Regions from separate parts of the Homo sapiens genome. Here all the other regions are linked to region 1. Evidence: promoter capture Hi-C in 16 types of primary human blood cells and fetal thymus (Javierre and others, 2016). All regions are on one chromosome and are shown on one strand. The core of a region is centred on a gene start or on the middle of the fragment in contact, and the rest is flanking DNA. Distances in the headings are between cores, read along the strand shown.

Region 1 (3,829 bases), core at 909-3,408:
CGCTGAGACATTCACGTCTTAAAATAGGGGAGGACAATATAATTGCTTTTAAAATGCCCTTAATACAATATATAACGTACAAAAATATCTCTATATTTGAAGTTACAAAAAAAATCTTGACAGCAACAAACTTAAATATTGATAGTTACCTCTGTATGTACAACACGCATTGCACTTTTCCTCTTTAGGTTTTGGAAAGTTCAAGTAATAGTGAGGCTTGCGCCCTGGTGGGGTGACACGCCGTGAGAAATCAGTTTGTGGGCGAGCACGGCTGTGGCTCAGACCCCTGCTCCGGGGGTCTCAGCATTCATTTCTCAGTTTCTCCTCTCCTTAAGCCTGGCAAACACTCGGATTCTTCTGCACCCCGCCCCCTGGGGCACTTGCACCTGAGCAAGGCTAAGGAAGCGAAGCCCCCAGAAGGAGGGGCCCTTGCAAAGCCAGAGCTCGCCGCCGGACGGTGCCTCCCGGACTCAGGGTCTCCGCAGGGCTGTCAGAGCCCGGTCCCCACACCGCTCGGGAAGTCCTTCGTCCCGGGAGGCACCAGCGGGATGCTTGCGCGACTATTCCTTGTACCATGGGCGCCTAAATCCTAAAGAAAGTGGGGAGCACTTCCACTCGGGGGGGCTGGAGCCCCGTGTGCTTGTGGCTTAGAAGACACCAGAGTCCGACCCGGGCCGGCCTCGGGCAGGGAGCGCCGGCGCCGGCGGCCGTAGCCCTGGGGGCTGATCTTGCTCCTGGGGGCGACGTTGTCCTTGTCCTTATCTGTGAACTGGTAGATCTGGTGTGCCAGCTTCTGCACCGTGCACGTCCCGAAGCGGCAGCCAAAGCTCCGGAGGCCCTGGAAGTTGTTCATGCTCTGGCGGTAGCGCTTGACTCGGATGCGGGCGGCATCCGGACTGCTGCGGGCGGGGGGAGGGGGAAGAAAGGCAACTTGAGACCCCATCAAGCAGAGCTTTGGCCCCAACACCGGGAACGGGAGCCATTCTAGAGCCAGAGGGAGCTGGAAACTGCTCGCGCCATCTGAGCTGCGGTCCAGCCCCGACGATCCCCCGGGCCAGGGGAGTGGAGACAGAGAACTCCTCCCGCACACCTTCCTTCCCTCCCGTCCCTGGACAGCACAGGGCGTAGTTACCTGTCTTCGGGGCTTCGAGAGGCACCCTTCATGTCCTGGGGCCGAATAAGGGTCTGGGCAGGCCCGGCCTTCACGTCAGCGAGCCCGGTGGGGTAGCTGCTGGACATCCGCAGTTCCCTCTTCCCACGACTCAGAGCCCACTTATTCCACCTGGAAAACACAAGCAGACCCGATTCGCGTGCGTTCAGGTGACGCCCAGGCCTGTCCCTGCTCCCATTCACTTCTAGACCTTCGGGACCAACGGTCAGTTCCCCTTGCCTGCCAGGTACCAGCAAGGGGGAAGGCGCTGCCCGGACTCACTTCTTTCGAAACTCCGACGCGACATCCAACCGAGCGGTGTCAGCGCCTAGGAAGGCGAGCGAACCCAGGTACATCAGGGCGACGGAAACCAGCTTCATCCCGGCTGCGAAGCGCAGACCCTGGAAAAGAAGAAAGAGAGTCGAGCGTGAGCACCCGGGCCAGCTGCACCGCCCGGGCGGGGCACGGAGGGCGGGCAGGGGCCCCGGCGAGGCGGGTTTAGCCCGCGCTTTCCCTGGCTCAGACGCTTATCTCCCTCCGCGCAGAGAGGCGCCAGAGGCGTTTGCACGCGCCGGCCGGGTGACAGGCCCCGCAGGGGAGGCCGCTGCACCCCGCCAGGCTCCCAGAGGGTCTCTGCTCAACTTCTTGGAACTTGGCTGACGGAGCAGAGGGGACTGGGTCTCTGGACCTCCAGCTGTGTGCACGAGCTGGGCCCAGGATATGGGGTGTATCTATCTCTCAGAGAACCCTCCAAAGTGGGTTGTTCCCCTCACCCAGCGCTCCCAGTTTAGGGCCTTGGCAAGCACTGCCCCCCACCCCACCTCTTAACCCGCAGGGTCTGCGGCACCTACCTGCTAAGAGAGTGATCTGCCAAGTACTTGAAGGAGAAAGTCTCAGACGTCCCACTGGCAATGGCAAAACTCCGAAGTCCAAGCCCAGCTGCAGTGAGAAGCCCGAAGTGGCAAGGCTTGAGCTGTTCTATCCAGTGTCACCAAGAAACCACTGAGTGGCCAGCTCTGGTTCCTGTGCTTTATAAGCGCACGGGTGGGGGAGCGGCGGGGCGGGGCCTGGGCTGCCCGGTTGCCTTCCCTTTCTTTCCTCAGCCACGCGCGCTCCTGCTCTCGGACGCGCGCATTGCTTCCTTTGGGGCTGGAGTTGGGATGGGGGGAGGGGGGAGCGGGGGAGAGGAGGTCCCTCGTGCCCAGAGGGCTTAGGTATGGGCTCCAGGCGGTTGGTGCAGGAACTGCCACAGCCCTCTTTGGGCACAGGGTTCAGACAGTACGCCGGAGCGAAGGGGCGCCACTACAACCTCTTGAGGTCCTTATCCAGGACCCATGCGGCCCGGAGTGCAAAGCCTCCTGGCGAAGAACAGCAAGAGCCCGCGGAAGGGACAGCGCGGATGGCCCGAGCCCTGGACCTGGGGAGCTGTGGCCTCAAGTGGACCGCGCCCCCCTGCCGGCTTGGCGCCTGACCGGGCCGCGACCCCAGACTCCCGCGGAGGGGCCGGGGCAGGGACGGAGCAAAGCCGAGAGGAGCAGGACTCACTAGTCCCCCAGAGGACCAAGACCCCGGCGTTTCGGGGTGAGCTAGTAAGATTTCACGGTAGGGACAAGGCTCAGAAAAGCTAAATTGAGAATTGGGATTTGGAGGGGGGAATTATCTGAAATTTCAGAATTTTCATTTCTATTTGGAAACATAGGAATAACCAAAATTAGGAGGAAATATACTGTTTCATTTTGCCTCCTTGTAATCCTATTATGCCTTATAAGGTCATAACCTGAGATTGTGCCTGGCTGCCTTCATTAATCCATCGTAAACGTGAGGACTGACTGCCAGGGAGCACACTAACGCTTCACGTATGCTAATCATTTTACAGTTTACCAAGCACGGCCACATCCCAGTCTACTTTGAGCTTCACAGCCACCCTTGAGTCAGGCAAGGAAGGTAACATTCCTTTTCCCATTTCAGCAGGTAGAAAATTCAAGCTCAGAGAGGGGAGGTATCTGCAGAGAGGGGAAGTCACCCTGCAGGTAGGAAGCAGCAGAGTCCCTACTCGGCCCGACACGCTAGCACGGCCGACTGGGGCGCGGCGTGGATTCCTCTAGGCTGGGGTCACCAACTTCTCAAGGGGCAAAGGAGAGTCCTAGCCCCCGCCCAAAGAATTTGTGCCTGTTCATGATGAATCACGCTAGACACGTTTGTCACCCGTTTGTGCTCTTTCATCACAGCTTCTTCTCTTTCTTACTTCTCTCCTGGGGGCCAAACTGGGAAGGAAAGGCTAAGCCACGGGGCTTCCTGCTTCGTGCTTGTGGGTTTCTGGGGTCCTACTAACCACTCCTCTAATCGAATGTCCTGAAGCCCAGCGACTCGACGGAGAGGCCAAAGGTGCGAGACCACTAGCCAAACAGGCTTCTAGTCCTCACCTCCCGGCAATTCGCTGTGTGAAGGTGGGCGAGTCATGTCCCATCTCTCGAGTCCCCATCTTAGAGCCGGTCCCCAGCAGACCTTTAAGCTTCCTTCCTACTCTGCCATATGGCTCTGAGCTCCGGTGCAAAGGCGGCTGGGCAGTGGGTCGCGCGGACCTTGCCCAGAGTGGTCTGTCTGGGCCGCGCACTGCTGGCTTAGCTGCCTTTTCACTCTCGGGACTCAACAGTGGACATTGCACCTGGGGAAGAAATG
Region 2 (3,829 bases), core at 556-3,055, 780 kb after region 1:
AAATGATCCTCCCACCTCAGCCTCCTGAGTAGCTGGGACTACTGGCATGCGCCACCACACCTGGCTAATTTTGTATTTTTAGTAGAGATGGGGTTTCACCATGTTGCCCTGGGTTGGTCTTGAACTCCTGACCTCAGGTGATCCACCTGCCTCAGCCTCCCAAAGTGCTGGGATTACAGGCATGAGCCACCGCACCCGGCCCCCAGATCCTATGTATATTAAAGAGATAATAAGGAAATAGTATGAACATCTTTATATCAATAAATATGAAAACTTAGATGAAACAGACAAACTTACAAAAACAAAACTTAGCAAAATGGATACAAAAAAACATAGATAACTTGAATAGTATAGATCCACTTAAAAACTTGAATCCATAGTAAAAAACAACAACAACAACAACAAAAAAAAAACAAAAAAAAACCTCCGCAAAAAGAAAACTCTGGGCATAGATGGTGGTGTCCTAATTAACTCTATCAAGCTTTTATGGAGAAATAATACCAATCTTACACAACTATCAGAAAATAGTACAGAAGAGAACACTTCCCAACTTGTTTTATGAGGCAAGCCTAACCCTGATATTGAAACAGGAGATGAAACTTTTTCTTATAATTTCATAATAAATTATAGATCAATATGGTTCATAAACATTGACACCAAAATCCTTAACAAGATATTAGCAAATTGTCACAGAGGATTTTAAGGGCAGTAAAAATACTCTAATAGAGTATGATCCTCTATTGATAGATGTATGTCATCATACGTTTGTCCAAACCCATAGAATGTACAACACTAACAGTGAATCCTGATGTAAATGATGGACTCTGGGTGATTGTGATGTGTACGTGTAGGTTTCAACAGTAACAAACGTGTTCCTCTGGTGGGGGTGTTCATTATGCAGGAGGCTATGTATGTGTGGGGGCAGGGAGTGTAAGGGAAGTCTCTGTACCTACCTCTCAATTTTGTGGTGACCTATAACAGCTCTAAAAAATCATCTTTAAAAAATATTAGCTAATTGAATCCAGCAAAATACAAAAATACATCATAACCAAGTGATATATTAGCTTTTTTATATGTAAATTAAAACCACAATGATAGACCACTTAACATCCAGTAGAATGGCTAAAACTTTAAAACAACTCCAAATGTTGGTGATAATATGAAACAAACAGAATTCTTTTTTATTTTTTATTTTTTTGAGACGGAGTCTCGCTGTCACTCAGGCTGGAGTGCAATGGTGCAATCTCAGCTCACTGCAACCTCCACCTACCGGGTTCAAGCAATTCTCCTGCCTCAGCCTCCTGAGTAGCTGGGACTAAAGGTGCACACCACACCATGCTAATTTTTTGTATTTTTAGTAGAGCCAGGGTTTCACCATGCTGGCCAGGCTGGTCTCGAACTCCTGACCTTGTGATCCACCTGCCTCAGCCTCCCAAATTCCTGGGATTACAGGCATGAGCCACTGTGCCTGGCCTCTTTTTTATTTTTTTTAGAAGACAGGGTTTTGCTCTGTCATCCAGGCTGTAGTACAATGAACATGGCTCACCAAAGCCTCAACCTCCTGGGCTAAGTGATCCTCCCACTTCAGCTTCAAGAGTAGCTGGGACTACAGGCATATGCTGCCATGCTTTGCTAATTAAAAAAAAAAAAAAAAAAAAAAATTGGACAGGCACAGTGGCTCAGCACTTTGGGAAGCCGAGGCGGGTGGATCACCTGAGGTCAGGAGTTGGAGACCAGCCTGACCAACATGGTGAAACCCCCTCTCTACTAAAAATACAAAAATTAGCTGGGCATGCTGGTGGGTGCCTGTAATCCTGCTACTAAGGAGGCCGAGGCAGGAGAATCACTTGAACCCGGAAGGCGGAAGTTGCAGTGAGCCGAGATTGGGCCACTGCACTGCAGTCTGGGCGACAGAGGGAGATTCCGTCTCAAAAAAAAAAAAAAAAAAAAAAAAAAAAATTGGTGGAAACAGTGTCTTGCTACATTGCCCAGGTTGGTTTTAAAATCCTGGGCTCAAGCAATCCTCCGACCTTGGCCTCCCAAAGTGCTGGGATTACAGGTGTGAGCCACTGCGCCCAGCCTATTTTTTAAAAACGTTTTAACCACAAGAAGCAGCACTGAACAAATGGAACTCTTAGACATTGCTAGTGGGAGTGTATGACAGCCCAGCCACTTTGGAGAATTGTTTGGTACTATCATAGAAAGGTAAATATGCCTCTATTCTATGACCCAGCAATTCCACAAATAGGTATTTATCCAAGACAAATGAGAGTATATGTCTACAAACATATTTTTACTGCCATCTTATTCATAATAGTCAAAAACTGGAAGCATTTCAAATGTTCACCAAGGGGAGAATATATCAACAAGTTGTGGTATATTCTTACAATAGAACACTGCTCAGCAATAAAAAAGAATGAACTGTTATTACATGCCAACAATGTGAATAAATATCCAAAACGTTAAGTAGAAAAACCCAGACACAAAAGAGTTCATACTGTGGTTCCATTTATGTAATGTTCAAGAATAGGCAAAACCAAGCTGGGTGCGGTGGCTCACGCCTGTAATCCTAGCACTTTGGGAGGCCGAGGCGGGCAGATCACTTGAGGTCCGGAGTTCGAGACCAGCATGGCCAACATGCTAAAACCCCATCTCTACTAAAAATACAAAAAAATTAGCCAGGCGCGGGAGGTTGCAGTGAGCTGAGAACGTGCCACTGCACTCCAGCCAGGGTGACAGAGTGAGGCTCTGTCTCAAAAAAAAAAAAAATAGGCAAAACTAATTCAATCACAACAGTTTTTGCCTAAGGAGAGTGAGTACTGACTATAAAGGAATCACAAGGTAACTTTCTAGCGTGATAGAAATGTTCTACATTTTGTTTAGGATGTTAGTTATATGGGTGCATATTTAACATAACTCATTGAATTGTAAATTTAAGATCTGTGCATTTCATTGTTATGTAAATTTTACCTCAATTAAGAAAAAACCAGATTGCAGGCAAATATGAAAAACAGGCTTAACTTCACCAGTGGTCAAATGAAAATAAACAGAATTTAACTTTTGCTTGTTAATTCTGTAAATATTTTAAAAAATCCTCAATGCAAGAGTACAGTGAAAAAGAAAGCTTTTAGATCCATAACACGATTACTAAACCTTTCTGAAAAATAATTTGGCAATATGTAACAAGCAGCTTAAAATAGCTTAAACCGTTAATACAAAAATTTGTTTCCTATGAAAATAACCAGAAGCTTTTTTTTTTTTTTCTTTAAGACGGAGTCTCACTCTTTTTGCCTAGGCTGGAGTGCAGTGGTGCAATCTCGGCTGACTGCAACCTCTGCCTCCTGGGTTCAAGCGATTCTCCTGCCTCAGCCTCCTGAGTAGCTGTGATTACAGGCACCCTGCCACCACGCCTGGCTAATGTTTTTGTATTTTTATTAGAGACGGGGTTTCACCATGTTTGGCCACGCTGGTCTTGAATTCCTGACCTCAGGTGATCCACCCACCTCGGCCTCCCAAAGTGCTGGGATTACAGGCGTGAGCCACCGCACCCAGCCTGCATTTTCTTAATGACTAATGATGTTGAACATCTTTTCATGTGCTTATTGATCATTTTACATTCCCACTAGCAGTATATGAATATTCTAGTTGCTCCACATCTTTGCCAACATTTGGAGGTGGTGGTGGTGGTTGTTTCCTCACCAGTTTCTTAGGAGAAATCAACATTTGGTTTTGTTAGTCTTTGATTTTAGCCATCTTCTTGGGTTTGAAATGCTCTCTCATTGTGATGTTAATTTGCATTTCTTTGATGATAAAAGATGTGCACTTTTTG
Region 3 (3,829 bases), core at 421-2,920, 730 kb after region 1:
GCGAGGCTTGTCTTAATCTCTGGAAGTATCAGCTTTAAAATCTGCAGTTTTAAAAGTGGTCATCTGCGCAGTACTCGAAGGCCTTTCAAAACACAGGTGCTGAACACCTCCTTCTTTAAGATACCTTATCTACGGTAGGATGTTCCTAATCACACGGAGGCCGGCCAAACTCTGGGCACCGCAAACCCACGATAAAAACAAATGCTGGGCCAAGACCTTGTCCAGAAACAGGCCTCAGTACTGCCTGGACTTAGGATGAGTCTGTAGGACTGTAAATGCTTGGAAGGCCAGCCTTTACTCCCAAGTCCAAGCGTAGTCTCCCTGCATGCCCCAGACCTTTCCCCCATCCACGCCACACGACACGACACGATCAGGGCGGGACAATTATTTTTCTTTAAACTCCTTCTGCCCGCGCCGCCCAAATTACAGGCCCGATCGCCGCGTTTAAAAGGCATCCTATGGCTCGGGAGTGTCAGGTGGCCGGGCCGGCACCCTCCAGCATCCTCGCGAACCGCGTTATCGGTGCCGCACTCGGGGCTGACACGCTCGGGGCGGCCCGGACTCAACGGGCGGCAAATCCTTGGCCACCCGGACGGGCCGATCGGCCCCTTTGTAAGATGAAGTTCCAGACGAGGCCCATTGTTCAGTTACATAATCTCAACGGACAACCTCGGGGCAGGGCCAAACACAAGGGCTGCCAACTTTGGGGGGCGGCGCAGGAAAGCGAGGGGGGAGCGGCCGGCCGCTTCTGTAACCGAACCCAGGCAGCGGCGCTGGCCCCTCCGGCGCCGCGGCCCCGGCCGCCGGGTGCCCGCGCCCGCCGCTCTCACCTTGGGCGTGTGCGGGGTGTCGAAGAGTCGCAGCTTGCGGAAGGTCTTGTGTGGCGGGGTGCCCGGGTGGTCCGGCCGCGGCGAGCGGCGGCCTTCGCCCGCCCGGCGCGCCCCGCAACCCCGCGGCGACGCATCTCCTGGGCCGCCGCAGCGCACCGGCGAGAAAGAGCTACCCAGGAAGTAGGGGGCCGCCGGCGACTTGACCGGCGACGAGGAGCCGAAGCCCTCCTCCTCCCACGAGTCGCCCTCCGCCCCACCGCCCGCCTCGTCCGCGCCCGGGCAGGCGCCGGGCAGCAACAGGTCCTCCTCCAGCTCGCCGGGGCTGCCGGGGGCCGGCCCGGGCGAGCGGCGGCGCTCGGGCCCGGGCTCCGTGGGGCTCCGCGCGGGCGGCAGCGGCGAGTCGGGCTCTTGAAAGGCCGAGTCCTCCCCGGTGCTGTGGCCGCTGCCCTCCTCCTCCTCCTCTTCTTCCTCCTCCTCACAGTCGCTGCAGGGCGAGAAGATCAGCTTCTGCCGCAAGGTGCAGGCCGCCCCGGCGCGGCGGGGTGGCGGCGGCTGCTGTCGGCTCAGGAAGCTCATCGCGGCCCTGGGGACGGGGCCGAGGACAGGAGAGCGGAGGCCTGCGGGGTCCAGGACACTGCGGGCCTGGGGGCGGGTCCGCCACGTGCGGCTGGGCGCGCCTAGTCGCAGCCGCGGCGTCTCTGCGCGGCGGCGGCCTGCGGCTCCGGGGCGCTCGGGCTGCGGACGGTGGCGGCAGCGGCGGCGCGGACTTTCCGGCAGAGGCGGGGCGGCCCGAGCACCGAGGCTGAGGTCTCCTCAGGTCCAGTCTCAGGTTCGGGCTCCGCGGCTTCCCGCGACCGTTAACCACGTGAGTGCCCAGTCCACCAATCCCAGTGCAGCTCCGGGTTTGAAAAAAAAAGGAGGGCGCGACGTAGCCCGCGGGGGAAGGACCAGCTACGCGATTTTGGCGGGAACCCGCTGGCTCCACCCCCGGCTCGGCGCCAGCCAAGTCTGGGCGGGCTGTGGTGTTCCGGGCCTATGAGCGAGCCTGGGGCGGCGGGGGGCCCGGCCCGGCGCCGCCCGAACACCGCCCGGACGGGGCTGGGCCTTCTGGGAGGGGCAAAAGAGAGCTGGATTCGCCTAAGCCGACCCGAAAGCCGGCCTGGACGCACCCCCCTCGCTGCTCCTCCGGTGCTGGGGGATCTGAAGAGGGGCAGGCGGCCGGGCAGCGCCTCCGGGTCTCTGCGAGCTGGGAAGAGCCAGGGACCGAATGGCCTTCGGCCGCTGCCCTCGGAGGCCGCTTCTTGCCCCTCGTCCCCTGGGGCGAGCCACTGGGGCGTAGTGGGCGTGGCAGTGGGCAGCCACGTTCAGGGTCGAGGTCTGAGCCGGAAATGGTGACTCGGGCCTCGGGACCTTTCTGAACTGCGGGAGCCGATGTGCTTAGGCTGGACACTGGCTGGGAGGAGGCCTCCGAGCCCCATTATTTCCCCGGGGTGGGTGACTGTTAGGGGCGGGTGTCAGCACAGCGAGAAGAGCTCTCCCAAGCAGGGGTCCACCTCTGCCGACCTTGTCCGCGGCCAAAAGAAACAGCAGCACAGTTGCCCACCACGAAACCAAGTGCCCGGCACACGATCTCCGTGTTTACATTTGTTCGCCAGCACGTGGGCATGCGTTGGCAAAACCGATTGGCCCGGCTCGCGGCAAACTCAAACGCAATTTTAAAAAATTTCCCTAGTGCTTCGTTAAACTGATTTAATCTGTCCCTTAATGCACTTACACGTTTCTTCCAGTTTTCTTTTTTCTTTCTTTGTTTATTTATTTTTTTTTTTTTTTCTGAGACGGGGTCTTGCTCTGTCACCCAGGCTGGAGTGCAGTGGCACGATCTCGGCTCACTACAACCTGCAACCTCCGCCTTTAGAGTTCAAGCGATTCTCATGCCTCAGCCACCCGAGTAGCTGGGATTACAGGCGGCTGCCACCACACCTGGCTAATTTTTGTATTTTTAGTAGAGACGAACTTCCCAATGTTGGCCAGGCTGGTCTCCAACTCCTGATCTCAAGTGATCCGCCCGCCTCGGCCTCTCAAAGTGCTGGAATTACAGACGTGAACCACCGCTCCCGGCCTCTTCCAGTTTTCTGTTGTAAACAACCCCGTGGTGTATATGCTTCCTTCTCCATGTTTTTTGTTTGGTTTGGTTTTTTTCGACACGGAGTCTCGCTCTGTCGCCCCAGGCTGGAGTGCAGTGGCGCGATCTCGGCTCACTGCAGCCCCCACCTCCCGGGTTCTCGGGTTCCAGCGATTCTCCTGTCTCCCGGGTAGCTGGTATTACAAGCACATACCAGGCCTGGCCAATTTTTGTATTTTTACAAAATGCAAAATACGGAGTTTCACCATGTTGGCAGGCTGGTCTCAAACTCCTGACCTCAGGTGATCTGCCCGCCTCGGCCTCCCAAAGTGCTAGGATTACAGGCGTGAGCCACCGCGCCTGGCCTTTTTAAAATACTCTTTTGGATACCTCCCTGGAGTTAGAATTCCTCAGTCAAAGGATATAAACTGGCAAACTCCCCCTCCAGAAACACAATACATTCTCACTAGCAGTGGATTAGAGCACACTCTGTGAATTCAGGACATCAGTGGATGTTCGTTGATGTGGTTTTGTTGTTTTGATTCATATTGTTGAACAGTTGTCATGGGTTTAATGATAATTTACATTTATCTCTATTGCCTATTTTTCTTATTGTTAGCACTTTATGCATATTAACACTTTGTCATATATGTTGTTCTAATGCTTTTCAAAGGCTAAATAAACTCAAGCTGAATTTTTCTTGAAACACACGGTAGTACTTAACACATCAAATCGGGAATTTCCTGAGATCACACAACTGAAGACACAGTGAAGGATCAACAGCTGTCTTTTCTCCTAACATTTGCTAACTGGTGTATAAATGTGTTTTTTATATGGTCATGCAAACTTAATTTTAAGCTCTTGGAGGACAAGAATT
Region 4 (3,829 bases), core at 573-3,072, 710 kb after region 1:
CTTAAAATAGCTTAAGCCAAAAGAGGAATATGTATAGGCTCATAGAACCCAACCAAGATTGGCTTCAGGGACTCCGATGTTCTCAGATCTTGCCCTCCTCATTTCTCAATTCTGCTTCTGTGTTGGTTCATTCACTTCACCTGCAAATCAGCTTTTGCTATGCAGCTTGGCCTCCTTATCTTTGCCAGCAACGGGAGCATCTGCAAGGTTCCAGGAGAAACTCCATTTGGTCCAGCCCAGATCATATAGGTGCCCCTGTATTCAAGGGAGTGGTGCCCATTATTAGAAATTTGTGGGGGCAGTAGAGGATGATTATTGGACAAATCTTTGCAAGCCAGGTGACTTGCTCAATTTCTATTGACTGCATATGTTAATAACTTTTTGTTTGTTTGTTTGTTTGTGTCTGTGTGTGTGAGAGACAGGGTATTGCTCTGACATCCAGGCTGGAGTGCAGATCTTGGCTCACTGCAACTGCCGCCTCCTGGGCTCAGGTGATCCTCCCAACCTCAGCCTCCCAAGTAGCTGAGACTACAGGTGCATGCCATCACGCCTGGCTAATTTTTGTATTTTTAGTAGAGATGGGGGTTTCACTATGTTGCCCAAGCTAGTCTTGAACTCTTGAGCTCGAGTTTTTTTTTGAGATGGAGTTTCGCTCTTATTGTCCAGGCTGGAGTGCAATGGCATCATCTCAGCTCACTGCAACCTCCACCTCCAGGGTTCAAGCGATTCTCCTGCCTCAGTCTCCACAGTAGCTGGGATTACAGGCATGCACCACCATGCCCAGCTAATTTTGTATTTTGAGTAGAGACGGGGGTTTCTCCATGTTGGTCAGGCTGGTCTCAAACTCCCGACCTCAGGTGATCCGCTCACCTTGGCCTCCCAGAGTGCTGGGATTACAGGCGTAAGCCACGGCGCCCGGCCCCGGCCTCAAATATTTTTTAAAAGGAAAAAAGAGTGGGAAAGCTTCAGTAATCCCACCAGTCACGTAAATGACAGCTGTTGTTGGCCTTCATTCTTTTAATGCTTTAACAACAATCCCATGTGTACAATTTTGTTTGCTGTTTTTTTTCTTACTTTATTATAACACATAAATTTCTCTAATCATAAAAACTTCTTGAAACGCTGCTTTAAATATCTATATAGTATACTCTAAAGACTCACCCAGGCTGGAGTGCAGTGGCATATTCTCAGCTCACCGAAACCTACAGCTCCCAGGTTCAGGTGATTCTTCTGTCTCAGCCTCCCAAGTAGCTGGAATTACAGCACCTGCCACCACACCTGGCTAATTTTTGTATTTTTAGTAGAGGCGGGATTTCACCATGTTGGCCAGGCTGGCCTTGAACTCCTGACCTCAAATGATCCACCCATCTCGGCCTCCCAAAGTGCTGGGATTACAGGCGTGAGCCACCGCTCCTGGCCCTCTGAAGACTTTTAGCCACTTCATCCAGAAGGAAAGAAGGCAGCAGCAGCAGAGTGAGGAGGCATTCCTTCTATACATGTGCCTCTGTCCTCAGTCCCCTGAGGCACTTTCAGTTCCTGGGACACAATTCCAACTTCAGAGGAGAGAGCATTAAACTGGAATTCCCCTCCCCATTTCCTGCACTTCCCAAAACTTGTCTCATTCACACTTATTCTTCCTCCGCTCCAAACTCAGAGAACTTGCTACAAATTTGGCTAGTGGTTCAGCCAAACACTTTAGGTTTGAATCCTGATGCTGTAGCTTCGTATCCTGATGCTGTAGCTTTGTAATTGGGGAAACATTTTACCTCTCTTAAAAACCATTTGAAAAATGGGGATTTTGTCACAGAGTTCTTATGAGGATTAAATGTCATTATGTATGTAAAACACTTAGCACGTAGATGATAAATAATACCAAAATCAGCAAAACCCAGGCCAGGTGCAGTGGCTCGCACCTGTAATCCTAGCACTTTGGGAGGCCTAGTCGGGCAGATCACTTGAGCCCAGGAGTTTGAGACCAGCCTGGGCAACATGGCAAAACCCTGGCTCTACCAAAAATACACAAATTAGCCAGGAGTGGTAGTGCACACTTGTGTCGCCAGCTACTTGAAAGACTGAGGCAGGAAGATCATTTGAGCCTGGGAGGTCGAGCCTGTGGTGAGCCAAAATTGGGCCACTGTACTCCAGTCTGGGCTACAAAGTGAGACCCTATCTCAGCAAAACAAAACAAAACAAAACACCCCAGCAAAACCCAAAGAAGATTCCCCTCTAATTATAGCTCTCTCCTCCCTTCCCCTTCTCTTTCAGCCATGCTTCTTGCAAATGATCTGTGCTTGCTATCTCTATTTCCTCATCTCCCATTTACATCTCAACCCATTGTAATCTGGCTGTTTCCCCTGTACTGACACCGCTCACCAAATATCTTCTAATGAACTCTAGATACCTTCACAGAGCTTTGAGTCATTGTTCAATCTTTTCTGTATTAGTCACAGTTAATCAATTTCTCCTTCAAAATTCTCTTATTCTCTGTCAGATTCCATCCAGTTTTCCTAATTCTCAGCCTGCACCTTCTTACTCTCCTTTGCTGCCTGAACACTGTCTTTTAACTCAGGGGTTCTCAACCCCTGAATTAATGGCAAAACCCCCATGGTACCAGTTCGTGCCCTGTTAGGAACCGGGCCGCACAGCGGGAGGTGAGCAGCGGGCAAGCCAGAGAAGCTTCATCTGTATTTACAGCTGCTCCCGATTGCTTGCATTATCACCTGAGCTCCACCTCCCATCAGATCAGCCGTGGCATTAGATTCTCCTAGGAGCACGAACTCTACTGTGAACTGCACAAGCGAGGGCTCTAGGTTGCATGCTTCTTGTAAAAACCTAATCCGTGATGATGTGTCACTGTCTCTCATCACCCCAAGACAGGACCATCTAGTTGCAGGAAAACAAGGTCAGGGCTCCCACTGACTTACATTATGGTGAGTTGTATAATTATTTCATTACATATTATAATGTAATAATAATAGAAATAAAGTGCACAATAAATGTAATGTGCTTGAATCACCTTGAAACCATTCCCCTGCAACACCCCAACCCCAGTGAAAAAATTACCTTCCACAAAACCGGTCCCTGGTGCCCAAAAGATTGGAGATCGCCTCTTTAATTAGTATTTGTCTTCAACCTTCATATGTCTAGAAAAAGCATGATTCTTTGCTATGAGATCTGAGTTGGAATTCTGACTCTGCTACCTACTAAATTGATTTCCTAAATTATTTTACTCCCTTGAGCCTTCATACTCTCACCTGCAAAAAAGTTCCTCCTCTCCTGGATAATCATCCTAAATTGAATTGTATACCAAACCTATATTTCCAAGCTGGGTGCGGTGGCTCACACCTGTAATCCCAGCACTTTGGGAGGCTGAGGTGGGCAGATCACAAGGTCAGGAGTTCCAGACAAGCCTGGCCAACATAGTGAAACCTTGTCTCTACTAAAAATACAAAAATCAGCCGGGCATGGTGGCGGGTGCCTGTAGTCCCAGCTACTTGGGAGGCTGAGGCAGGAGAATTGCTTGAACCCAGCAGGTGGAGGTTGTGGTGAGCCAAGATTGCGCCACTGCACTGGAGCCTGGGCAACAGATCAAGACCCCGTCTCAAAAACAAAAAAACAAAATCAAGCAAAAAAACCCTGTATTTCCCATTGGCATAATGAATTAGTAAGCATAAATTGGAATTCCAGGCCTGGAAACCTATTTCATGCCACAACTATGTCAAAAATCAGAACAAGTATATGCTCTTCAAAATGTTTATTAACCATATAAAACTAAACAATGTGAACTGTGATGTAAATGTTCCTTTGAGGTATTTTTCTTCATGGGCTG
Region 5 (3,829 bases), core at 838-3,337, 670 kb after region 1:
AGAGCAAGACTCTGTCTCAAAAAACAAAACAAAAACACACACAGCTGTTTGGCTTCAAAATCCAGGCTCCTTCCATCAGGCCATACTGCCTAAGGTCCCTGGGAAGAGCACCTGTGATTGCATGTCGGGAAGAGAGACAAAAAGGCAGTTAGGCAGGGGGAGCATTACCCAAAGAAGAAGTTCTCAGAGCACTGTTGAGGCCCAGACAGGAAGCTAGGGTCAGGAAGCGAGATAAGATGCCAGCTGGGGAAGAGACAGAGGCACCAAGGGGAAGCAAGGTCAGAACCTGGAAGTCAAGGGACATCTTTCCAGAAGTGAGTTGGGAGTGACTTGGACCATCCAGGAAGGGAAGATGTGGTACAGGGAGTTCCTTTTAAGCAACACCCAGCTCATGCTGCAGAGCCTGCCAAGCGCTGGCCGAGTGCTGCTGACCCGCCCAGCTCAGAGTTTCCTTTGGTGACCCTTGGCCTGCCAACAATGTCCTTGGACTGTTCTCATTCCCACTTCCTACCCATCAGCAATTGTCTTTGGTCTACGAGAGCTGAAACCCTGTTTCTAACAAAGACTATAATTTAATTATGTGCGTATGAACTTCCTCAGATACCTGCAATCATGGAACTTTCCTTCTGTAAAGCATGGCCCTGTTGTTTCTGCCCTGGTAAGGCCCAAGTTCCTAGAATAGCATCATTGCTGCAACATAAGATGAGGCAGGTTGAAAACTAGTGGGTCAGTATATTATAAGTTAAGCCACATTACCTTTTCTACTTAATGCTTGTGGCTGAAAAGAATTAATGTCTCCATTGCAAAATCAGCCAAAAAGTAGCTCCAGCTAATTCTGGGACTGGGGCCACATGTAGACTATTTCAATAGGTGATCTGGGTCCTTCATTCCCTCTTTGCCTTTCTGGCCAGGCATGGTGGCTCATGCCTGTAATCCCAGCACTTTGGGAGGCTGAGGTGGGTAGATTACCTGAGGTCAGGAGTTCGAGACCAGCCAGACCAACATGGTGAAACCCCGTATCTACTAAAAATACAAAAATTAGCTGGGTGTGGTGGTGAGCACGTGTAATCCCAACTACTTGGGAGGCTGAGGCAGGAGAATCACATGAACCTAGGAGATGGAGGTTGCAGTGAGCTGAGATCCCGCCATTGCACTCTAGCCTGGGCGACAGAGTGAGACTCCATCTCAAAAAAAAAAAAAAGAAAGAAAGAAAAAAGGTTTTTTTGGTTTTCCAAACTCCTGTGATCCTCAGGAGCTCCAGACTCCGTGTTCAGATAGGAAATCGAAGGACATGAACACAACACAGACATGAGGGAGAACACCTGGGCTGGGCTCCCAGATGTTTGACTAGAACTGATCACCAATTCCTTTCATTAAACTCAAAACTTCCTGGACGCTTAGGCCTCCTGGACCAGGAGGGAGCCCCAAACCTGCCCTGCAGGTCAGCGCCTTCGGGAAGTTACTTCATTCAGTCTGCACTTTCCTGAAGCCCACACCATTTAACGAGGGCAGTAAGAGCAAAATAAACCAGAAATTTAATAAATAAACAGAAAATAAACAAACCAAGACTTTTCTTTCTCTGGATGGCCTTAGGTTGGCCAGGTGAACAAATCAATGCAAGGACACATCTTCCTGAAATTATTTATCTCACCCCACCCACTATGAAAAAGGCCAGAGCTTATTTAGCTATGATTCCAGGGAAAGGTTCAAGTTCTTGAAAGCCTTTTGAGATTTTGGCCTAGGGATTAACAGAACTCTGGGCGCAATGCTTTGGATTTCAGACTAATCAAGTTATTCCACAATCATCTATTGGGTACCTTATATTTTCTGGGTGCTGAGTTGAAATGGTGGAATCCTCTAGAGATTACTAGAACACAGACCGTGCTCTCCAGCTGCTCAGGGTGGAGTAGGGAAGATTAAACTATGAAGTGGGTAACTCTGGCTAGAAGGAAAAAAGTGCTAAGTGCCACAGAGAAACATAACCAAATAATAATAATCATTTATGTTTGAACAGGACTTCTTTTTTGTTTTTTTGAGATAGGGTCTCTCTCTGTCACCATGCTGGAGTGCAATGGCACCACCATAGCTCACTACAACCTCGAACTCCTGGGCTCAAGCAATCCTCCCACCTCAGCCTCCTGAGTAGCTAGGACTATAGGCACATGTCACCACACCTGGCTAATTTGGTTTTTGTTTTGTTTTGTTTTTTGGTAGAGACAGGGTCTTGACACGTTGCCCAGGCTGGTCTCGAACTCCTGGCCTCAAGCAATCTCCCTGCCTTGACCTCCCAAAGTGCTGGTATAACCACGCCTAGCCTGATCAGGACTTTCGAAGTCAGTTTCCTCATATTGTCTCACTTGATCCCCAGCACAACTATGGTGGAGCTCTGCAGTTATTCTCATCTAGCATCCTTTCACCATGCTGGAAATGCACCCTAACTTCTCATTGCAGAAACTCCACCCACCCACACTCATCCCATGTGTTGCTGCCAGGGATGCACCCCAGGGTCTGAGGTAGAACAAGTCCCCTGGGCCCTAGGCAATCCAAGCATCAAATTCTCCTGGCCATAGTGACCACCTCAGGGATGGGCACATGACCCAATGAGAGTCCGTGATAACTTTGTTGTGACTTGAGAAAGATGTTCTCAAGCTAGTCAGCTGGACTTGAAGCAGAAAGATTGGGTTCTAAGAGTGCTGCCAGCCATCAGGCTACTCTTTGAACCTGGGCATAAAGGTGACAGAGCAAAAGGCAGCTCTTAGAGAAGATAGTCAGACTCCTGCTGATAGCATTTGAGCTTTGAGTCCACCCCATGCCTGAAGCCATCTCTACCCCTGGACTTTTCACCTATATAAACCAATCTATGCCCTCTTCAGGATGGATTTTCCTTCACTCAAAACCAAAATGGTCATAAAAGTGACTTTAATTCTGTGAGGGAAATATTTCCATCTGTTTTAGATAATAACTGAAGCTGAGATAGGTAAAAAGAGGCAGCTAAGGAGTAACAGAGCCAGGTCCTGAGCCCCTAAGTCCTGATATCAATTCACAGCTTGAGTCCTTTACACTGCAGTGGACTTCTTCAATCGCAGAAATACAGAGGAAGCACACAAAACTTTAAGCTGAGAAGATTAGTCAGGCTTCATAGCAGCACCCATTGAGCTGGACTTTGAAAGACGTGTTGGATTTGGCCTGCAGTAATGCCAAAAGTGTATGGTTAGTTACTTGGGAGGCTGTGGCAGGAGGATTGTGTGAGCCCAGGAGTTTGAGGCTGCAGTGAGTTAGGATCATGCCACTGCACTCCTGACTGGGTGACAGAACGAGACCCAGTCACCTGGGGAAAAAAAAGTACCTGGGTAAAGAGCGCATCATACGCAAAGACATAGGGCCAGGTGTGGTGGCTCACGCCTGTAATCCCAGCACTTTGGGAGGCCGAGGCAGGCGAAACACGAGGTCAGGAGTCCGAGACCAGCCTGGCAAACGTGGTGAAACCCCGTCTCTACTAAAAAAAATACAAAAAATTAGCCAGGCGTGGTGGCACGCGCCTACAGTCCCAGCTACTTGGGAGGCTGAGGCAGAAGAATCACTTGAACTCTGGAGGCGGAGGTTGCAGTGAGCCGAGATCGCCCCACTGCACTCCAGCCTGGGCAACAGCGAGACTCCATCTCAAAACAAACAAACAGAAAAGAGCACATTATATGCAAGGACATGGATATGAGAAAGCTCAGAGGTACACAGAAAATAACAAGCACCTTTGGTTTCTCTAAAGCATTGGGTAGATAAGAGAGGAAAGTAGGAAACTGAGTTAGAAACATACTTGGGGCAGAAAGTTTGG
Region 6 (3,829 bases), core at 516-3,015, 580 kb after region 1:
ACAAGTAGAGGTATTTTTCTGATTTTATAAAAATAATATAAAATCATATAGAAAGTCCAATAATACAGAAAGGAATAAAGAAGAAAAAAATTCACCAAAATCCCACAATCTAGAGGTGATCACTGTAAACATTTTAGCAAGCACCTTCCTGACAGCTCTACACACATGCATAACATTACCTGAAGGGGATTACAAGATATCTCCTGTTCAGCAATGTGGTTTTTTTTCACTCAACGTTATGCCATGGAGATCTTTCTGGATCAGTGGTTATGAATTTCCAAAATAAAATATTTTGGAAATGGCCTGGGCGCGGCGGTTCACGCCTGTAATGCCAACACTTTGGGAGGCCAAGGCTGGTGGATCACAAGGTCAAAAGATCGAGACCGTCCTGGCCAACCTGGTGAAATCCCATCTCTACTAAAAATACAAAAGCTAGCTGGACGTGGTGGCGCACACCTGTAGTCCCAGCTACTCAAAAGGCTGAGGCGGGAGAATTGTTTGAACCCGGGAGGCGGAGGTTGCAGTGAGCCAAGATCATGCCACTGCACTCCAGCCTGGTGACAGCGTGAAATTCCGTCTTGGAAAAAAAAAAAAAAAAAAATATATATATATATATATATATATATATATATATATATATTTTGTATTTTTAATACAGACAGGGTTTCAACATGCTGGCCAGGATGGTCTTGAGCTCCTGACCTGGTGATCCACCCGCCTCAGCCTCCCAAAGTGCTGGGATTACAGGCATGAGCCACCACGTCCAGCCAAAATATATATATATATTTTAACTGTATTCTTAACTGTACTTTAAAATCGCACAAATAATTTTTTTTAATGAAAGCCTAATACAAGACTGGAAAAATAAGAAATTTTATTCCTATTCAAAATCAGGCCAGGCCCAGTGGGTCACACCTGTAATCCCAGCACTTTGGGAGGCCGACGTGGGTGGATCACTTGAGGTCAGGCATTCGAGACCAGCCTGGCCAACATGGTAAAACCCCATCTCTACTAAATATACAAAAATTAGCTGGGCATGGGGGTGCATGCCTTCAAGGCAAGAGAATCCCTTGAACCCAGGAGATGGAGGTTGCAGTAAGCCAAGATCACGTCACTGCACTCCAGACTGGGCGACAGAGCAAGACTGTCTCAAAAAAACAAAAAATAAAAAAACGAAATCAGTGTAAGAAAATAAGTGACTTATACTCATCTTTGTGACAAAAATATTAATTTTAAAATGTCAAATTCTAAAGATGAGAAAAAAAAACAGTAACAGAATTCTTACCTGCTTTAACACATCTAATATAAGTTCATTAAAGACTTCATTAATTGCCATAGACACAGTCTGCCGGTCCATGCCTTTGCTAAACTGTCCATTTCCAATAAGCTCAATAAGTTCCCATGCAGAAAGGCCATTTTTACTGTCATCAAAGTTGATTTTATAATGTTCAAATTGTTCTTGCTGCCAACCTCCTCCCATAGCTTCTGTAAGCTTCTTAAGCAGGTATTCAATCTACATAAAGAATGTGAAATAATTATTTCCTAGTTAAAAAAAACTTTAACATAGTTATGTATTTATGTTATAAACACTGATAAGTTCAACTTAGGAAATACTCTTTACAGTTCCAAAAATGCCTACCTTTAGAGTCTCCTAAAATACAGGGAGAGAAGTATAAATAAAATGCCACTGGTCTGTATTAGTGCAGAATAAGTAAAGGAATCAAAAACTGATAACCCTCTAATAGTGTAGTATATTTGTCTGCAGAACTAAAACAAACTGCAGATATATGACAGCATACAAACTAATTAATGTGATCTGATTACTCGCTGTTAAATATTTCAATATATCAGAACATTAGTCTTACTCAACAAACAAGCGCTAAATTAAACATCTCAAAGTAATATGTACAAGTTATTGATCAATTTACAAACTTTCCACATAAGCCAATTATTTAAAATTCATGCTGCTTCCTCCCACTGGAACACTACAATGTTGTAAATAATGGTGGAATACCTAGCATGAGCAGGAAAAGCTTACTAAATCCTAAAACATCATACTTTGTGTAGAAAATACTGCTATTGAAATAATAGCAGTTAGGCCAGGAGCAGTGGCTCATGCCTATAATCCCAACACTTTGGGAGGCCAAGGCAGGAGGATCACTTGAGGCATGGAGTTCAAGACCAGCCTGGCCAACATGGCGAAACCCTGTCTCTACTAAAAATACAAAAAAGTTAGCCAGGCATGTGGCGCACACCTGTAATCCCAGCTACTCAGGTGGCTGAGGCATGAGAATCGTTTGAACCTTGAAGACAGAGGTTGCAGTGAGCGGCGATTGTGCCACTGCACTCCAGCCTGGGCAAGAGCAAGACTCTTGTTTCAAAAAAAAAAAAAAAAAAAAGTAAAGAAGGAAAGAAATAACAGCAGTTAAACAAAACAATAAGGCAGTAAAACTGAATGAGAATTGATACCTCTTATTTTCTGGAAAGCCCAAATATCCTATACAGTGCTCTCAAACTCAACATATGTCCAAAAATGAATGAATCCTCTCTACTTTCCAAATGGCTTCCCCGCTGTATTATTGATTTCCATTAGGAATAACACCATTCACACATCCATGTCAGGATTCTTGCTCCCCAACCCCCACATCAAACCAAGGATATAATCCTGCTGTTTTATTTCCCTAAATGAGCTCCCTAATAAGTTTGAAAACTGTGGGTTATGGCCCACTATGAAGTCAACTTAGTGGGCAGCAACCAGCATTTTTTTTTAATGGAATGAAAAACATGTGAGTTCATCCACAATAAAGAAATAGTGTTTTGTGATAAGTTTTGCTTTGAGTGTGTGTGTGTGCTGGGTCATGATATAAAATGTTTATCTTCCTATGGGTTGCAGTGAAAATAAAATTTAAAACTTTGTCCCAGGCAGCTCTGAACTCTGTCACTCCTATTTGATCTGCTTTTGGTCGGGCCTCCTGGTTGGTATCTGTACCTCCAGGTCGCCACCTTTTATACATATTCTGCCAGAGGGATTTTTCTAAAACAAAAGCCAGAGCCTGACCCTCCCCTCTTTAAGCCCTGCCCTGGCTCCCTATCACCTCAAAGACAGAGGCCAAGCTCCTCTGCATCCCTTGGTGATCATCCCCCAGCCTACTTTCTCAAACATGTCCCACCTCAGACTTTACACTCCACCAATACCACCAATACCATAGATCAGGGGATGCAAACTTTTACTGTAAAGGGTTGAACAGTAAATATTTAAGCTTTGTGCCTCCCTATCATGTGTTCTTCCTTGATTTTGTTTTTTTACAACCCTTTAGAAATATAAAAACTATTCCTTAGCACATGTGCCACGCAAATATAGGCTGTGGGCTGGATTTAGCCAGCAAGCTGTAGTTTGCCACCACTTGCCATAGATTATAAGTAGTTTACCCTCTTACCATATTTTCCTTATGCTTTATGTCATTCCCCACTCTGTCTTCTCTGTCTAGAATACCTTTTCCCACCTCTCGACCCAGTTAATTGGTATTTATTCAAGTCCTACATCCTCTAGAATATTCCTACTCAAAACGAAGCATGCGGACCAGTGACGTCGGCACCACCTGGAAGCTTGTTAGAAATGAAGACTGTCAGACCAACCAAAGGACCAAAAATCAGAATCTGTATTTTAATTAAAACCCCTAGTACTTCCATTTGCACACTAAAGTTTTGAGAAGCACTGCTGCTTTAGCAAACCTGCTCTGACCAACCCTAACCCAGGTCACGTGTTCCTTTTCTAGGTCACTGCACTTAACGTATTTTCACTCATTCGCTTTTCTACCATTTTCTGCAT
Region 7 (3,829 bases), core at 626-3,125, 520 kb after region 1:
CACTGCAGCTCGACCTCACAGGCTCAAGCAATCCTCCCACCTCAGCCTCCTGGGTAGCTGCAACTACGGGCATGCACCACCACGATTGGCTGATTTTTGTATGTTTTTGTAGAGACGGGGTTTCACCATGTTGCCCAGGCTGGTCTCGAACTCCTGGGCTTAAGTGATCCGTCCACCTTCACCTCCCAAAAAGGACTGGGATTACAGGCATAAACCACCATGCCCAGCCTTGATTCTATTTTTTAAGATGTAATACATTTATTTGTTTGATTTTCAAACAGTACATAAGTCTTTCCCCCAATGCTTTCTCCAAGCCACCTAGTTCTTCCTAGAAGCAACAAGTATTATTAATTAATTTTTTGTGTATTCTTCGAGGCATAGTTCAGCATATATAACCAAGGTACAGAGGAAGGTATTCAAATGCAGTTTGAAAAGCCATGGCATTTTCTCTTTCTGTCTCTTATATCTCACTTGTATCCTTTTGGTTCCAGCTGCGCTACTATGACTCAGGTGAGGACACAAGCTGTAAAGGCCACATTGATCTGGCTGAAGTAGAAATGGTCATCCCTGCTGGCCCCAGCATGGGAGCCCCAAAGCACACAAGTGACAAGGCTTTCTTTGATGTAAGTTGATCTTACTTCTCTTTTCCTGGCTCTGTCTGCACATCATTCTGTCTGTCTCCAAGAATGATGGAGCCCTCAGAGTAATTGGTGGTGACTACAGATGGATGACAGACCCCCTTGGCTATGGGAATTGTTCCAGAGCTTGAACTCAGCATTATTGACCCCCAAGGCTATCCTCTCTTCCTGTCTGTATGTCTCAGAAAAGCTACATATTGCTTTGTGCAAAAGGAGTCCAGCGCACATGGAAACAGATGAACTCCTTGTTAAATGTTGTTAGTTATTTCAGTCACCACCTACTTTCAAGAACAGATGCTATTTCCCTAGTATTCAGTGGTCTTCGTGCTTGACTACCCACAAAAGACTGTCCTTAGTCACACATGATAAGTGTCTACGCTAACATCTTCAGCAGCCCTTAGGTAGGCCATGGGGCACTTTATAGGCCACATAATAGAAGGAGACTTATGTAGTCCCTGGAGTCAAGCAGGGCTTTATAAAGAGGATAGGTCATCCTCTATGGCCCTGCTCAGGCCATGAGACCGTTTTCCTGACAGTGGGCTTCCAATATGGCTCCAACTAAAGAAAGGGGACACGAAGGCCAACTTTATGGTATGCATGAATCTCAGGCATCCCCCTGGAGCACAAGGAGCTCCCTCACCTTCAGTGCATTGGTGCAGTGCATGGGAAAGGTTAAAGGCACCATTCATTGCTGACCCTTCCTCCTTAGTCAAAGACGACACTAAGAAAATGCAAAATAAGGCGCTCCCAGTGTGTCTCCCTTTCCTGCCAGTACCCTTCTATCAACATCCCCTATGACTCTAGAGACCACAAAAGTAAAGGCAATAACAGTATGGTAGTTGAGGAAGAAAAATTCATACAGACGTTCTGGGGCAGTATGGAAAAGAAAGGTCACAGGAACTGATTTACCACTTACCCAAATCCATAAAACAGCCCTGCCCTTCATCTCTGGTTCACTGTCATTTGGTTTTGTAGCTCAAGACCAGCAAACGTGTGTATAACTTCTGCGCCCAGGATGGACAGAGTGCCCAGCAATGGATGGACAAGATCCAGAGTTGTATCTCTGATGCCTGATGCCCATGGTCAACCCACGCAGAAGAAACAGAAGAACTCATGCTGCCAGATAGATAGAAAAAGAAGCATGGATCCTTGAGGAGCTGACAACAAGTTATCCCAGGGCCTGAGGTTCTCCTGCCCAGTCCCCTCTTGCAGGGGTTGCTATATCTACTTAACCTGAATAGGTGTTTCACACAGGTCTGGTCAACAGCCCCATGCACTCCCTGTATCTTGCACTAAATTTTTCTAACAGGGTCTTAGTGGTTAATGATCAGAAGATGTCTCCTGAGCCAACTGTGAACCTCACCCAGGCAAAATGGCTACCACCTACTTGGGTCCTTCTTCATGAAAGCTATAGATCCTTTTTTGTTCTCTGAGGTCATAATTTCCTCGGAGACCTGTTTAACAAGCAAAAATCAAAACCCTCCAAGATTGTCTCATATTCTACCTGGACTAGGTTTCCTATGAGAGACATCTACTTGTAATGCCTGACCTTTGAGATGCTCAGTTCTCTGGTGCTGCCAAAAGATGCTTCCATGGTCCGTGCTCTGCCAGTGGGGTTCACAACAAGAGACGTCATTGTTCAGTAGCAGGCAAAGAGGGAGCACACAGCATTATTCTGATGGAAAAAGATTATCCAGGGAATGGTACAACAATGACCAGCCCAATGCAGGAAAACACTACTTCCAAAACACTGAATTCTCTAGACCAGAGGTGCTCTGAGGATCCAGGGCCTTGTGTTCTTATGTATCTTCTGCTTCCTGACAGCTTCTTTTTCAAAATAACATGCAAAAAAAGCTGAATGCACTAACTCACAAAACAAACACTTGCACTGAATTCCCAATGAAGTGAAGATGTTGGAAAGACAGAGGCCAGCTATTTAGGACCATACGCACCTGTGACAAGGGCTGTGTTGACCACAGTCACACTGTGGCATGACTGGATACCCAAACTACACTTCTACACATGAAAAGTAAGAACTGTCTTTAGATTTTCTTTACTTTGATAACTTGTGATTGTTTAGCTTAAGACCCAAGAAATGCTGTTTGCTCATGGTAAACAGAAACAGCATCTTCGCTACAACCACTGACACCAGCTGGCGTCATAGGTAGCTAGATCATTGCATTTGTTTTGAAATGTTAATATGTTAAATACTAAACTAATATTTCAAAAATGTGTATATATGATTTCTATATCCTTGTTTTTCAGATAGCCTGCTTATAATTTAATATAAATTAACTGATGCATTCATAAGATTTCAATAATGAAATGGTTCCCTTTTAAAAAATAAAAATACTTTGTAGATTAAAAATAAATCAGAATTTCAAATTTAAAATTGTCCACACACTAGGAAATAGAACTGTGTTAATATATAAGAAATCTGGGGATAATTAAGAATGAAGGACTTTTCTATCATTTCCATTTTATAAATTGCCACCTGTGAAAATGGTTTTTGCACATTATTTGTATTTTTCTTTGTATATGAAATAATTTTTTGTACTTTGTAAAATATGGAGCCCATTGTACCTTCAGCTATTTGAGACTATACACAGTGCTTCTTTTGTAACTGGATTACTTTAACTTTCGTGAAGGCATTACATTGCCTCACATTCACTAACCACCTTGAATTAAATTTATTTCTTAAGAAAAAGCATCCCTCATTTACTGTGAACTAAAGTTCATTCTGTAGTGCACAGCATTCAGGAGGGTAACACTCAGGATTCATACATGGGACTAAAGGTTCAAGAATAAAACAAAGCATGACCCACTTTGTTCCTTCATTCTCCTAATGTCATCACTGCCCTTTGCTCAAGAAGTAACTAGGGATACTGGACATGTTAGCATGAGCTTCTGGGTTCCAGACACACTTCTGCAGAGTTTAGGTAAGAGACTTGAGGCCAAGATTCTCATATGTGCTGCCACTCCTACCACTGTCTCTAATAAGCTGTTTGAAATTGCTTAAGTCCCTTACCTATTCTGGGTCCATTCCACCACCCAGAGTATATGGTAATTTGTGAAAATTTTAGGCATGAGACATTGAAGTCTGTTTGAGCAGCAGATTTTTCTGCTTCAGGGAACTTTTTTTTTTTTTTTTTTTTTGAGACAGAGTCTCACTCTGTTGCCCAGGCTCTGGA

The links. The method cuts DNA at HindIII sites, captures the fragments that hold promoters and counts their contacts. A CHiCAGO score of 5 or more calls a contact.
Region 2: a contact is called between a fragment that was not itself captured here and the fragment with the promoter of ADM in region 1, in 2 of 17 cell types (naive B cells and total B cells). The highest score is 6.9, in naive B cells.
Region 3: a contact is called between the fragment with the promoter of WEE1 here and the fragment with the promoter of ADM in region 1, in 5 of 17 cell types (naive CD8 T cells, total B cells, activated CD4 T cells and 2 more). The highest score is 6.0, in naive CD8 T cells.
Region 4: a contact is called between a fragment that was not itself captured here and the fragment with the promoter of ADM in region 1, in 1 of 17 cell types (naive B cells). The highest score is 6.5, in naive B cells.
Region 5: a contact is called between a fragment that was not itself captured here and the fragment with the promoter of ADM in region 1, in 1 of 17 cell types (neutrophils). The highest score is 5.5, in neutrophils.
Region 6: a fragment that was not itself captured here is called in contact with the fragment with the promoter of ADM in region 1 in 1 of 17 cell types (naive B cells); the score reaches 7.1 in naive B cells.
Region 7: a fragment that was not itself captured here is called in contact with the fragment with the promoter of ADM in region 1 in 8 of 17 cell types (activated CD4 T cells, naive CD8 T cells, naive B cells and 5 more); the score reaches 8.6 in activated CD4 T cells.

Annotation. Positions count from the first base shown.
Region 1 is chr11:10,303,402-10,307,230 of GRCh38, reverse strand. ADM (adrenomedullin) reads right to left here and starts at 2,158. Exons shown (of 4, transcript NM_001124.3): 1 at 2,002-2,158; 2 at 1,433-1,551; 3 at 1,133-1,282; 4 at 1-899. The coding sequence starts at 1,530. The coding sequence ends at 590. It also overlaps a transcript of SBF2 not described here. RefSeq lists silencers at 1,567-1,616, 1,637-1,686, 2,367-2,416, 2,597-2,696, 3,187-3,246 and 1 more. The HindIII fragment of the contact is 5,037 bases long and covers 1-3,664 here.
Region 2 is chr11:9,518,156-9,521,984 of GRCh38, reverse strand. The region is part of intron 14 of ZNF143 (zinc finger protein 143); the gene reads right to left. Among named protein-coding and RNA genes, the nearest start is that of WEE1, 54 kb to the left of the region's middle. The HindIII fragment of the contact is 2,643 bases long and covers 484-3,126 here.
Region 3 is chr11:9,571,511-9,575,339 of GRCh38, reverse strand. WEE1 (WEE1 G2 checkpoint kinase) reads right to left here and starts at 1,670. Exons shown (of 11, transcript NM_003390.4): 1 at 831-1,670. The coding sequence starts at 1,406. RefSeq lists silencers at 1,048-1,147, 1,438-1,647, 1,668-2,017 and an enhancer at 1,592-2,444. The HindIII fragment of the contact is 14,841 bases long and covers 1-3,829 here.
Region 4 is chr11:9,593,369-9,597,197 of GRCh38, reverse strand. No RefSeq gene overlaps it. Among named protein-coding and RNA genes, the nearest start is that of WEE1, 22 kb to the right of the region's middle. RefSeq lists enhancers at 1-27, 138-217 and silencers at 458-527, 688-737. The HindIII fragment of the contact is 1,713 bases long and covers 966-2,678 here.
Region 5 is chr11:9,635,793-9,639,621 of GRCh38, reverse strand. No RefSeq gene overlaps it. Among named protein-coding and RNA genes, the nearest start is that of SWAP70, 26 kb to the left of the region's middle. The HindIII fragment of the contact is 7,235 bases long and covers 1-3,829 here.
Region 6 is chr11:9,722,342-9,726,170 of GRCh38, reverse strand. It overlaps SWAP70 (switching B cell complex subunit SWAP70), which reads right to left. Exons shown (of 12, transcript NM_015055.4): 4 at 1,286-1,513. Among named protein-coding and RNA genes, the nearest start is that of SBF2-AS1, 34 kb to the left of the region's middle. The HindIII fragment of the contact is 541 bases long and covers 1,495-2,035 here.
Region 7 is chr11:9,778,301-9,782,129 of GRCh38, reverse strand. SBF2 (SET binding factor 2) reads left to right here. Exons shown (of 40, transcript NM_030962.4): 39 at 492-623; 40 at 1,614-3,462. The coding sequence ends at 1,712. All of the region lies in intron 1 of SBF2-AS1 (SBF2 antisense RNA 1), which reads right to left. It overlaps LOC105369149 (a long non-coding RNA gene), which reads right to left and starts at 1,583. Exons shown (of 3, transcript NR_188521.1): 1 at 1,555-1,583. The HindIII fragment of the contact is 5,847 bases long and covers 1-3,829 here.